Regions from separate parts of the Homo sapiens genome. Here all the other regions are linked to region 1. The links are contacts of gene promoters, found by promoter capture Hi-C in blood cells and fetal thymus (Javierre and others, 2016). All regions are on one chromosome and are shown on one strand. The core of a region is centred on a gene start or on the middle of the fragment in contact, and the rest is flanking DNA. Distances in the headings are between cores, read along the strand shown.

Region 1 (2,700 bases), core at 62-2,561:
CCCGCCTGGCGAGCGCAGGCTCTTCTTCCAGAAACTGCGAGGATCCGAGCGTACTGTTTGTGCACCACAAGGTCAAGTCGGGAAGTGGAGCCGGAGGAGGAGGGGCGAGGAGGCGAAGGGTGGGGAGAGGGGCGCCCCGCTTCCTCGCCATGTGCCAGCCTTTGGAAGTTACCCCTCGGTTTTTAACCCTTTCGGGGTAATGGGAAGGAAGAGCAAGGAGGAAGGGGTCGCCCCGGGGCAAAATCCTGCTGGGGCCAGGATGTGCAACCACCCACCCACCCGCTCATCACTGCCTTCTCCACCCCCCGGAAATGCGGGGCAGCGCTAGGCGCCAGGAGGCACCCGGGAGGGGGGAGGGGGCGACGAGCCCAATGGGGACCCTCTCTACGGACCGCCCCTCTTTTCTTGAGGTCGCCTACAATTTCAAGTTCCCCCGCCCGGAATGTTAGTTTTCCATTTGGAGTGGGTGCGGGGAGGAGGGCCGCGCCCCCTCCCCAAGACTCGCGTTCGCCCCTCCACTCCCCTCCTGCCAGCACTTTCTGCTCACTTCTGGTGCTGCAAAACGCCACGCAATTTATTCGATTCGCATTTTAAAACCAGCGATTCAGAAGCAGGGCCTAGGGCGAGGGTCTTCCAGCGCTGGAGCCCCGGGGGGCGGGGTGCTCAGTGCAAACCTCGTTCCCTCCGCGAGTGTCGCCTCCAGGCTGTTATTTGCAAAGAAACGTCTTTTTGACGCAGGGAGAAATGGCAAATTTTAAGTACGTCATTAATATGGCGCCAAAAGATTTTTTTAAGTATAAGCTCGCTTTTTTTTTTTTTTAAGGTTGCGGGGGGCGCCGCCCGGGTCTGGGGCGCGTAGGGGGCGGGGTGTGAGCAGAAAGTGTGAGTGAAAGAGTGGAGGGGCGGGGTATGTGTGTGAGTGTGTGAAGTGTGAGCAGACCTGATGGGACTTGCACGGGCGCAGCCGCCGCTCGGGCCCGGCCCTGGGGACAGGGCGGGCTAGGGGCGCCCCAGAGTCCATGGGGAGTCCGGGCCCAGGGTGCCAGCAGGCGTGGTGGTGGGGCTGCGAGGGAGGGCACCCTTCCCCCACGGGGCCCGCAACGCTACCTGGACTCCCCGCCGGAGCCAAACAACTGGGCGGGGGGTTGGGGGGGCGGCGACGGGGGTGTCGGGAGCGGAGATCCGAGTGAATAAGAAAAAAGTGGCTACTCCCCCTCCCTCGCTCCTCCTGCCCGCCCCCACCCCACCCCCACCCCAACACATTTTTTTTTTCTAAAGAGATCACAAGGAAGTCTTGGTTTAAAAAGAAACAGAAACATACACAGGGGGTTGGTGAATGGTGCCGACCGCGGCCATCGCAGTTGGAGGCTATTTTTTGGGGGGGGTGAGTAGCGTCCATGGAGTTACTTTGCGCCCACTCCTAGCGGCACCGGCTTAGGTCCTGCGGGCCGACCGTCCCCGGCGGGGGGCGTGGGGCCTGGGACGCCGCGGGCCCGGCCGCCTCCCTCGCCGCGACCCCGGATGGATGCGCGCCCCCCGCCCTCCCGCGCCGGCCCCAGGAGCTCCCGGCTTCGGGAGCATCCTTCCCGCGCCGGTCCCTGCAGCGGCGCGTAGCCGAGGGCAGCGCCCGTCAGGGGGGCACCGCGGAGCAAGGTAAGATCCAGCCCCCGGCGGATGGGCCCTGCGCATCTCCACGACGTTATTTGGCGTTTTTGCAACAGATCTGCCAGCGCTCTTCGCTCCCTCGCTCTCTCTTGCTCGCTCGCTCCCTCTCTCTCCTGCTGGCTGCCTGTTCTAGGAAGCCAGCGCGGAGAGGGGGGGGATGCACAGCACAGGGGAGAGAGATTGCGCATGTTGGTCAGTCGTGTTTTAAAGAGTACAGTGCGGGGAGGCTGAGAGGGGCGCATGCAACAACAACTTTTGGAAGGGTGAGCTTGGCGACCTTCTTTATTAATGACTGCGGCAAAGCGCCCCCGGGCCGGCGAGGGGGCGCGGGCGGGCGGGGGCGCGCCAGGGCTGCAACTTCCCCGCGGGCTCCGGCCGGGCGTAGGGGCTGCGGCGGGAGATGGGTACGGTGGGGAGGTCGAGCGGCCCGGGCGGGGGCTCCGAGAACCTGGAGCTATCTGCCCTCCTGTCTCCCCGAGTTTCATTTTGTTGATACGCAGCACGTCCGGGCGCCGAACCGGGCTGAGCCGGTGCACATGACCTCGCGCTGGGCTCACGTGCAGCCGGTCCGGTCCCAGACACCTTCCGGGGGCCACCGCCTCCGCCCTGTCGCCCCCTCTCCCGGCCCGGTGCACGCGGGCGCTGCACGCGGGGGCAGCATGCTCGGCTCCTGGGGTTGGAGGCTCTGCACAAATTAGACAGTTTTTTTGGAGGGGCGGGGGACACCCTTTCCAGGTGAGTGTGGAGGGTGCGGAGCCTCGGCGCCAGGGGTGAGGACTGGGGTCGGGGGCAGCCTCCACCTCCGGGGCCGCGCGGTAGTCCAGCTGGGGAGAGGCGCTGGGAGAGTGGAAATGTACCGGCGGCGGCCGGAGCGGCGGGTGCGCGCCCGCGGGGCGACGGCAGGGGGCGTGGCCCTTGTTTACCTTCTCCCAACTCTGCCGGTTCGCGTCCCGCTTCAGGGACGGATCCGCAGTCCCCAGCCCTCTGCCTAGGGCCCTGCACCATGGGTGGTACCAGGAAGATGCCGGCTTGTGG
Region 2 (2,700 bases), core at 153-2,652, 200 kb before region 1:
GCTGAGGCAGGAAAATCACTTGAACCCGGGAGGTGGAGGTTGTGGTGAGCCGAGATCATGCCATTGCACTCTAGCCTGGGCAACAAGAGCAAAACTCAGTCTCAAAAAAAAAAAAAAATTGATGAGGTAGGTCTATCTATATGTGCTGAAATGGAATGATCTCCAAGATAAACTGTCAAGTGAAAAAAGCAACATTCATGAAAGAAATAAAAGATCTAAATAAATGGAGAGATACTCCATGTTCATCAATAGGAAGACTCAATATTGTCAAGATGTCAGTTCTTCCAAGCTTTATGTAGAGTCAATACAATCCCAGACAAAATCCCAGTAAATTAAAAATTGATAATTATGTGAGGTAACACACATATGTAAATTAGCCAAATTTAGTCATTTCACAACGTATATATATACCTCAAAACATCATGCTGTACACAATAAATACATACAATTTAATCTGTAAATTTTTAAAAATCCTAGGAAATTGTTTTGTAGATATTGACAATTGATTGCAAAGTTTATATGGAGAGGCAATAGACCCAGAATAGCCAACACAATTTGAAAAAGAACAAAGACTGACACTACTTGACTTCAAGATGTTTTATACAACAAGCAAGATAGTATGGTATTGGTGAAAGAATAGATAAATAGATCAAGGGAACAGAATAAAGAACCCAGAAATAGACTTGCACAAATGTGCTCAACTGATTTTTGACAAAGGAACAGAGGCAATTGAATAATAAGATAAAAAAAAGACAGTCTTTTCAACAAATAGTGCTGGAACATACAAAAAACTGAATCTAGACACAGACCTTATCCCTTTCACAAAAATTAACTCAAGATAGATGATAGACCTAAATATAAAATGCAAAACTGTAAAACCTCTAGACAATCACATAGGAAAAAATCTAGATGGCCTTAGGTTTGGTAATGAGTTTTTAGATACAACACCAAAAGTATAATTCACAAAAGAAAAAATTGATAGTTAGAACTTCACTAAAACTAAACTTTTCTGCTCCATGAGAGATACTGTTAAGCAAATAAAAAGACAAGCCACAAACTGCGAGAAAATATTTGCAAAATAATAAAGAACTTGTATCCAAAATACATAAAACTCTTAAAATTCAATAAGAAAATAACCCAATTAAAAAATGGGCAAAATATAAGAATATACATTTCACCAAAGAAAATATACAGATGGCAAATGGGCATATTAACAGATGCCCAGTATCATATGTCATCAGACAATTGCAAATTAAAACAACGAGATACCACTACACACCTATTAGAATGCCTAAAATCCAAAATACTGACAACATCAAATGCAGGTGAGGATGGCAAACAACAGGTACTCTCATTCATTGCTGGTAGAAACACAAAATTACACAGTCACTTTGGAGGACAATTTGACAGCTTCTAACAAAGCTAAACATAGTCTTACCATACAACCCAGCAATTGCTCTCCTTGGGATTTACCCAAGTGAGTAGAACACTTCTGTCCACATAAAAACCTGGACACGAATGCTTATAACAGCTTGCTTCATAATTGCCAACACATGGAAGCAATAAAGATGTCCTTCAATAGGTGAGTGGATAAACAAACTGTGGTACATACATACAATGGAATATTATTTAGCAATAAAAGAGAAGTGAGCTGTCAAGATACCAAAAAAAAAGGAGGAACCTTAAATATATATTGCTAGGTCAAAGAAGCCAGTCTGAAAAAGCTACATACTATGTGATTCCAACTATATGATATTCTGGAAAAGCCTAAAGTATAGTAACAGTAAAAAGACCAATGATTGCCAGCAGTTCTGGGAGAGGGACGGAAGAATAAAAACGAAGCACAGAAGATTTTTAGGACCATAAAATTATTCTGTATGATACTATAATGATGGATACATGACATTATACATTTATCAAAACCCAGGAAATACAACACAGAGTAAACTCTAAACTATGGAATTTAGTTAATAATGTTCAATATTGGTACATCAATTGTAACAAATGTACCACACTAATACAAGATGTTAGTAATAGAGAAATGTGTGGAGTAGGGTGGAGGGGACATAAGGAAACTACACTTTCTGTTCAATTCTTCTGGAGCCTAAAACTGGTCTAAAAATTAAAGTCCCTGAATATAAACAAATAAAAAGTGGCAGGGCTTGGTGGCTCATGCCTGTAGTCCCAGCTACTTTGGAGGCTGAGGCAGGAGGATCACTTGAGCCTGGGAAATCAAAGCTGCAGTGAGCCATGAGTATGCCACTGTACTTCAGCCTGTGAGACAGAATGCGACACTGTCTCATAAGTAAATAAAGAAGAGTGGGGAGGGAAACCAAGATTCTATACTATGTATATAGTATGTTCCTATTTCTGTTCAAAAGGAAGGAGATGGAGAAGTATGTGTATGCATGTGTGTATACTGCTAGATAATGACCTAAGAAATAAAGGAATTAATTATAGTATATACAGTTTTTCAGATCTACATTATAACCATAGATGATATAATAGTAACTTATAAGCTTGCTTATTTCACAAGTTTTAAGAATTTAATGAATATTAGTAAGTTTTAGTGAGAATAAATAAAATTAAGACCAAGTTTTGGATCTTTTGGTGAATACACATATGTGTATGTTCAGCTTTAATTGTTATTTAATAACAGTTTTCCAGAGAGATTGTACAAGTTTACATTTCCCCACCAGT
Region 3 (2,700 bases), core at 100-2,599, 250 kb before region 1:
CCTCCCAAGATGCTGGGATTACAGGGGTGGGTCATCGCACCCAGCTCCAGCTTTCTTTCAATTATTGTTTGCACACTATACTTTTTCCAACTTTTACTTTGAGCATTTCAGTGTCTTATACTTAAGATATTTTTTATATGCAGCATATAGCTGGGGTTTTTTTAACTTTTCTTTTTAGATTGGAGTCTTACTATGTTGGCCAGGCTGGCCTTGATGCCTAGCCTCAAGCAATCCTCCTGCCTCAGCCTTCTGAGTAGCTGGAATTATAGGCACATGCCACCATACCCAGGTTATAGTTAGATAATTTTTAATCCAATCTGATAATATTCATCTTCTATTTGGAGTATTTATTCTATTTGTTTTAATGTAATTACTAATACAGTTGGAATTATACTTACCATCTTTGACTTGAGTTTAATACAAATTACTATTTTAATATTTCCCTGATAATGCTAAAATCTTAGAACACTTTATCTCTATTTGCCCTCTCCTTCTTGCTTTATTGGAGTCATGAGTTTTAATTCTACATATATTTTAAGCCCTCATATTACTATGATTAATCTTTACAGTCAATATTTATTTATATTTACTCACACATTTCCCCCTTTTGTTATTCTTCATTCCCTTCAAATTTCCTGTTTCCATTTGGGACTATTTTCCTTCTGCCTTAAGAACTCTCTTCAGGCCAGGCACAATAGCTCACACCTGTAATCCCAGCACTTTGGAAAGCTGAGGTGGGAGGGTCACTTGAGGTCAGGGGTTCGAGACTAGCCTGGTCAACATTGTAAAACCCTGTATGTACCAATAATAATAATAATAATAATAATAGCTGGGTGTGGTGGCAGGTGCCTGTAATTCCAGCTACTTCGGAGGCTGAGGCATGAGAATCACTTGACCCCAGTAGGCGGAGGTTGCAATGAGCCGAGATTGCACCACTGTAGCCTGGGCAACAGAGCGTCTCAAAAACAAAACAAAACAAAACAAAAAAAAACCTCTCTTCAGCTTTTATCTTAAGGCAGATCTTCTGGCAATAAATTCTTTCTGCTTATATGTTTGCTTAGGGGGAGGTTACAGTGAGCCGAGATCATGTCATTGCACTCCAGCCCAGGCAACAAGGGTAAAACTGTCTTAAAAAGAAGAAAAGTCTGTATTTTGCCCTCATTTTTGTCACAGAATATACGATTCTAGCTTGGCAGCTATTTTCTTTCAGTACTTCAAAGGTGTCATTTCATTGTCTTCTGGATTTCATCATTTTTGTTGAGATCAGCTCCTTTAAAGGAAACATGACTTCTTGCCTTTTAGATTTTCTTTTTATATTTGAATTAAGCAGTTTCATTATGATGTGCTTAGGTGGGGTTTTCTTTCTTTTTTTTTTTTTTGAGACGGAGTCTCACTCGGTCGCCCAGGCTAGAATGCGGTGGTGCTGTCTCGGCTCACTGCAACCTCTGCCTCCCAGGTTCAAGCAATTTTCCCACCTCAGCCTCCCAAGTAGCTGGGATTACAGGTGCACGCCAGCACACCCGGCTAATTTTTTGTATTTTTAGTAGACATGGGGTCTCACCATGTTGGCTAGGCTGGTCTCACCTGGTCTCAAGTGATCTGCCCACCTCGGCCTCCCAAAGTGCTGGGGTTACAGGTGTGAGCCACCATGACCAGCCTAGGTGGGGTTTTCTTTGTATTTTTCCTGCCTGGGGTTTACAGAGCTTCTTAAATACATAAATTTTTGTCTTTCATCAGTTTGGTAGTATTTTTGGACATTCTCTTCAAATATTGCTTCTGCCTTATTTATTTATTTATTTATTTATTTTATTTATTTATTTTTGAGATAGAGTCTTGCTCTTTCACCTAGGCTGGAGCGCAGTGGCTCAATCTCAGCTCACTGCAACCTCCACCTCCCGAGTTCAAGCGATTCTTCTGCCTCAGCCTCCCGAGTAGCTGGGACTACAGACACGTGCCACCGTGCCTGGCTAACTTTTGTATTTTTAGTAGAGATGGGGTTTCACCATATTGGCCAGGCTGGTCTCGAACTCCTGACCTTGTGATCCACCTGCCTCAGCCTCCCAAAGTGCTGGAATTACAGGCGTGAGCCACCACGCCAGCGCTTCTGCCTTATTTTCTCTCTCCTCTTCTTATGGGAACCTAATTATACTTAGGTTAGATCTTTCCACTCTGTCTTGAAGGGGAAACAAACTATGTGTTCAGACTGTTCATGTCTCTGATGTTGTCACTCTAGCTGTATGAAACTACTAGAAAGTTCTGTTAGTTTCTCTGTACCGTAGTAGGGGCCCTCTTCCAGAGCTAAGTCTGAATTCTCAGTTTTTTTCTTGTTTCAAGAATCAGTCTATATTCCCCAGGAAAAAGCCACTGCAAACCATCAGCTCAACTCTCTGGAATTATCCCCTCAAATCACTATTACATCATCAGCTCTCTGCCTTTAAACAGAAATTTCTTGCATTTCACCTGGCTTTAGTGGTTCTCAGTGGATGTTTAATTTTGTTGCAAACTATCATATCTAGAAGCATAAGTATCTTACGCCATATGTTTTGAGACTGCATTTTTATTATCATTTTCTATGTATTATTTTATTATCATTTTCTATGTATTATTATATGGAAATTATTATCTAATTTCCATTATTATTTCTTCTTTGACACCTTCAGAAAGTATTTTTTAAAATTTCGTATATATGGGGCCGGGCGC
Region 4 (2,700 bases), core at 176-2,675, 140 kb before region 1:
AGGAGGGGTGGAGTGAGGGGTGTTTCGGTTTTGTGGATTTGAGAGGAGCAGAAATAATATGTTGGTTTGTGATGTTCTTTTTAAAGTTTTTTCTCTCACACTTCTTTAATTGTTTTTTTTTTTTTTTTTTTTTTTGAGACAGTGTCTTGCTCTGTTGCCCAGACTGGAGTGCAATGGCACAATCTTGGCTCACCGCAACCTCTGCCTCCCGGGTTCAAGTGATTATCCTGCCTCAGCCTCCTGAGTAGCTAGGACTATAGGCACATGCTACCACGCCTGGCTAAGTTTTTGTATTTTTAGTAGAGATGGGGTTTCACAGTGTTAGCCAGGATGGTCTCCATCTGACCTCATGATCCGCCCGTCTGAGCCTCCGAAAGTGTTGGGATTACAGGCGTGAGCTACTGCACCAGGCCAGTTCTGGTCATCTTACAAGCGTTGTTTTTCAACCTTCCTATCTCATTCTCTTCCTGCTAAATGTATATGTTTTGTTGATTAAAGGAAATAAGACTTATCTCCCAAATTTACTGTCAAGACATTTGCAAAGTAACTGCAGTAATAGAGTTTAACCTTGGAAAATGTTGGTTACTGAGAATTATTGATATCTTAACCAAATTAAGCTGTTTATTTCCTTGGTTTAATGAGAACGTCTCAATATGCTTAAGAATATTCTTTTCTGATTTCTTTCAAATTATAGGTATTTTTTTCTTTTCTTTTTTCTTTTTTTTTTTTTTGAGACGGAATTTCACCCTTGTTGCCCAGGCTGGAGTACAGTGGCGCGATCTCAGCTCACTGCAACCTCTGCCTCCCGGGTTCAAGCAATTCTCCTGCCTCAGCCTTCCGAGTAGCGGATTACGGGCATGCGCCACCACACCCGGCTAATTTTGTATTTTTAGAAATTACGGGGTTTTCTCCATGTTGGTCAGGCTGGTCTCGAACTCCCTACCTCAGGTGATCTGCCCGCCTCGGCCTCCCACAGTGCTGGGATTACAGGCGTGAGCCACCACACCCGACCTCTTTTTCTTTTTTAATAGAAACAGGGTCTCCCTATGTTGCCCAGGCTGGGCTTGAACTGCTGGGCTCAAGGGATCCTCCTGCCTTGGCCTCCCAAAGTGTTAGGATTACAGGCACAAGCCACTGTACCCAGCTGAAATTATAGGTCTTAAGGCAATTGAGAACTTTATTTCAGAAGCTTAAGTTCCTTAGCAGCAGGAAACCCCATAGTATTTATCAAATCATTTCTAAAAGTATTTAGACCCAAAATTATATGACATGTTAATCTCTGAAGTAATTTGTTGTTTTGTATAACTTTTCTGTAATATATTCCATATCTGACCCCTGTTGGTATAAAGAACAACTATGCAAATCTGTTTTTTCTTTTCTTTCCTCCTAGTCTCTGCTGGATGAACCGAATCCTAACAGTCCAGCCAATAGCCAGGCAGCACAGCTTTATCAGGAAAACAAACGAGAATATGAGAAAAGAGTTTCGGCCATTGTTGAACAAAGCTGGAATGATTCATAATAGACAACTGGTCTGTTAATCTTTTTCATCATTGTTGTGTATAATTTACCTCTCATTAGAAAGGCTAACAAATTTTAAGTGCCACAGGTTTTAAGGATTCTGCAGAAAAAAAAGAAAAAAGTCCTTCAGTTTAGAACCTACAAAAGCTTGTGTATCTTGATTAATGTACTTTTTATTGCATGGTGTGAACTAAGTTATTGCTGCATAAATTTGTAATATATCCTGTTTGTATTTTTTTCCAAGTGTATAATGTTGGTGTGGAGTTTTCATGACAGAATATACACATTTTGTAAATCTGTACTTTTTTCAAATATTGAATGCCTTATTTTTGAATTCTTTAGATTTTTAAATTGGAGAAAAGCACTTAAAGTTTTTTATATATGAATATTACATGTAAAGCTGTTAAAATACATAACTTCAGTGCAAGAGACTTTGTCACTTATTTCCTTATGTGTGTAGGAGGGGTTAATAAGTCTCTAGCTCTCCATCTATTGATAGTTTCATTTACAATTTCAAAAGAACATTCTTATATTTTATCAAGGAAGTCTTCAAATTTGATTCTAAATAGCGATTATAATCTCCAACTTTATTTTGAATGTACCTCTATTAGTTTCAATTGAGTAATTCTAGACATAACTGGTTTGACTCTGTCCAACTCTGTATTTAGGCCATTTGTTACAGTTTCTTCATGCATTACTTACTGTTAAAACTGTACCTTTTGCGATTTCACAGTTGGCACTTCTGCCATGAGCAGAGAACTGATGCGACTTGTTTTGCTGCTTGGTAGCACTTTAAAAAATTTTTTGATTAATGAAGAAAGTAAAACCATAAACATTTGCCAAAAATTCATGCCCCAGTATTAGCAATGAATTAGTTGCATTGGTTTGAGAAAGGCACATATTGGAGGGAAATCTTGGTGTAACTTAAATATTTGAAAATTACCTTTAATGCAATGCATATCTGTTTATTCTGGGAAATGTTTTAATGCCAGGGCCTGCTGAGTTGCTTCTTCTTGTGGAGATTTTTTTTTTAATCTCCTGAGTTGTATAAAAGTTGTACTGCATCTTAGTTTACTGGATAAATTTAAAACACAGTATTGTAGAAAGCTAATACAAAACTATCCTATGCCTTCAAATAGTATAGAAAATGGAAAATATACAAGTAAATTCTGTTGAACCACC

Evidence for each region. Contacts are between HindIII fragments. The CHiCAGO score rates a contact against its expected background, and 5 or more counts as called.
Region 2: a fragment that was not itself captured here is called in contact with the fragment with the promoter of JADE2 in region 1 in 6 of 17 cell types (erythroblasts, naive CD8 T cells, total B cells and 3 more); the score reaches 7.5 in erythroblasts.
Region 3: a contact is called between a fragment that was not itself captured here and the fragment with the promoter of JADE2 in region 1, in 1 of 17 cell types (total CD8 T cells). The highest score is 6.4, in total CD8 T cells.
Region 4: a contact is called between a fragment that was not itself captured here and the fragment with the promoter of JADE2 in region 1, in 15 of 17 cell types (naive CD4 T cells, total CD8 T cells, total B cells and 12 more). The highest score is 17.1, in naive CD4 T cells.

Annotation. Positions count from the first base shown.
Region 1 is chr5:134,524,359-134,527,058 of GRCh38, forward strand. JADE2 (jade family PHD finger 2) reads left to right here and starts at 1,312. Exons shown (of 12, transcript NM_001388185.1): 1 at 1,312-1,653. It overlaps LOC124901070 (a long non-coding RNA gene), which reads right to left and starts at 1,244. Exons shown (of 3, transcript XR_007058942.1): 1 at 1,108-1,244; 2 at 548-725. RefSeq lists silencers at 82-401, 982-1,031, 1,052-1,271, 1,402-1,481, 1,512-1,771 and 1 more. The HindIII fragment of the contact is 6,085 bases long and covers 1-2,700 here.
Region 2 is chr5:134,322,877-134,325,576 of GRCh38, forward strand. The region is part of intron 4 of CDKL3 (cyclin dependent kinase like 3); the gene reads right to left. Among named protein-coding and RNA genes, the nearest start is that of CDKL3, 43 kb to the right of the region's middle. The HindIII fragment of the contact is 2,230 bases long and covers 288-2,517 here.
Region 3 is chr5:134,278,853-134,281,552 of GRCh38, forward strand. No RefSeq gene overlaps it. Among named protein-coding and RNA genes, the nearest start is that of PPP2CA-DT, 54 kb to the left of the region's middle. The HindIII fragment of the contact is 5,733 bases long and covers 1-2,700 here.
Region 4 is chr5:134,388,835-134,391,534 of GRCh38, forward strand. UBE2B (ubiquitin conjugating enzyme E2 B) reads left to right here. Exons shown (of 6, transcript NM_003337.4): 6 at 1,391-2,700. The coding sequence ends at 1,519. Among named protein-coding and RNA genes, the nearest start is that of UBE2B, 19 kb to the left of the region's middle. The HindIII fragment of the contact is 476 bases long and covers 1,188-1,663 here.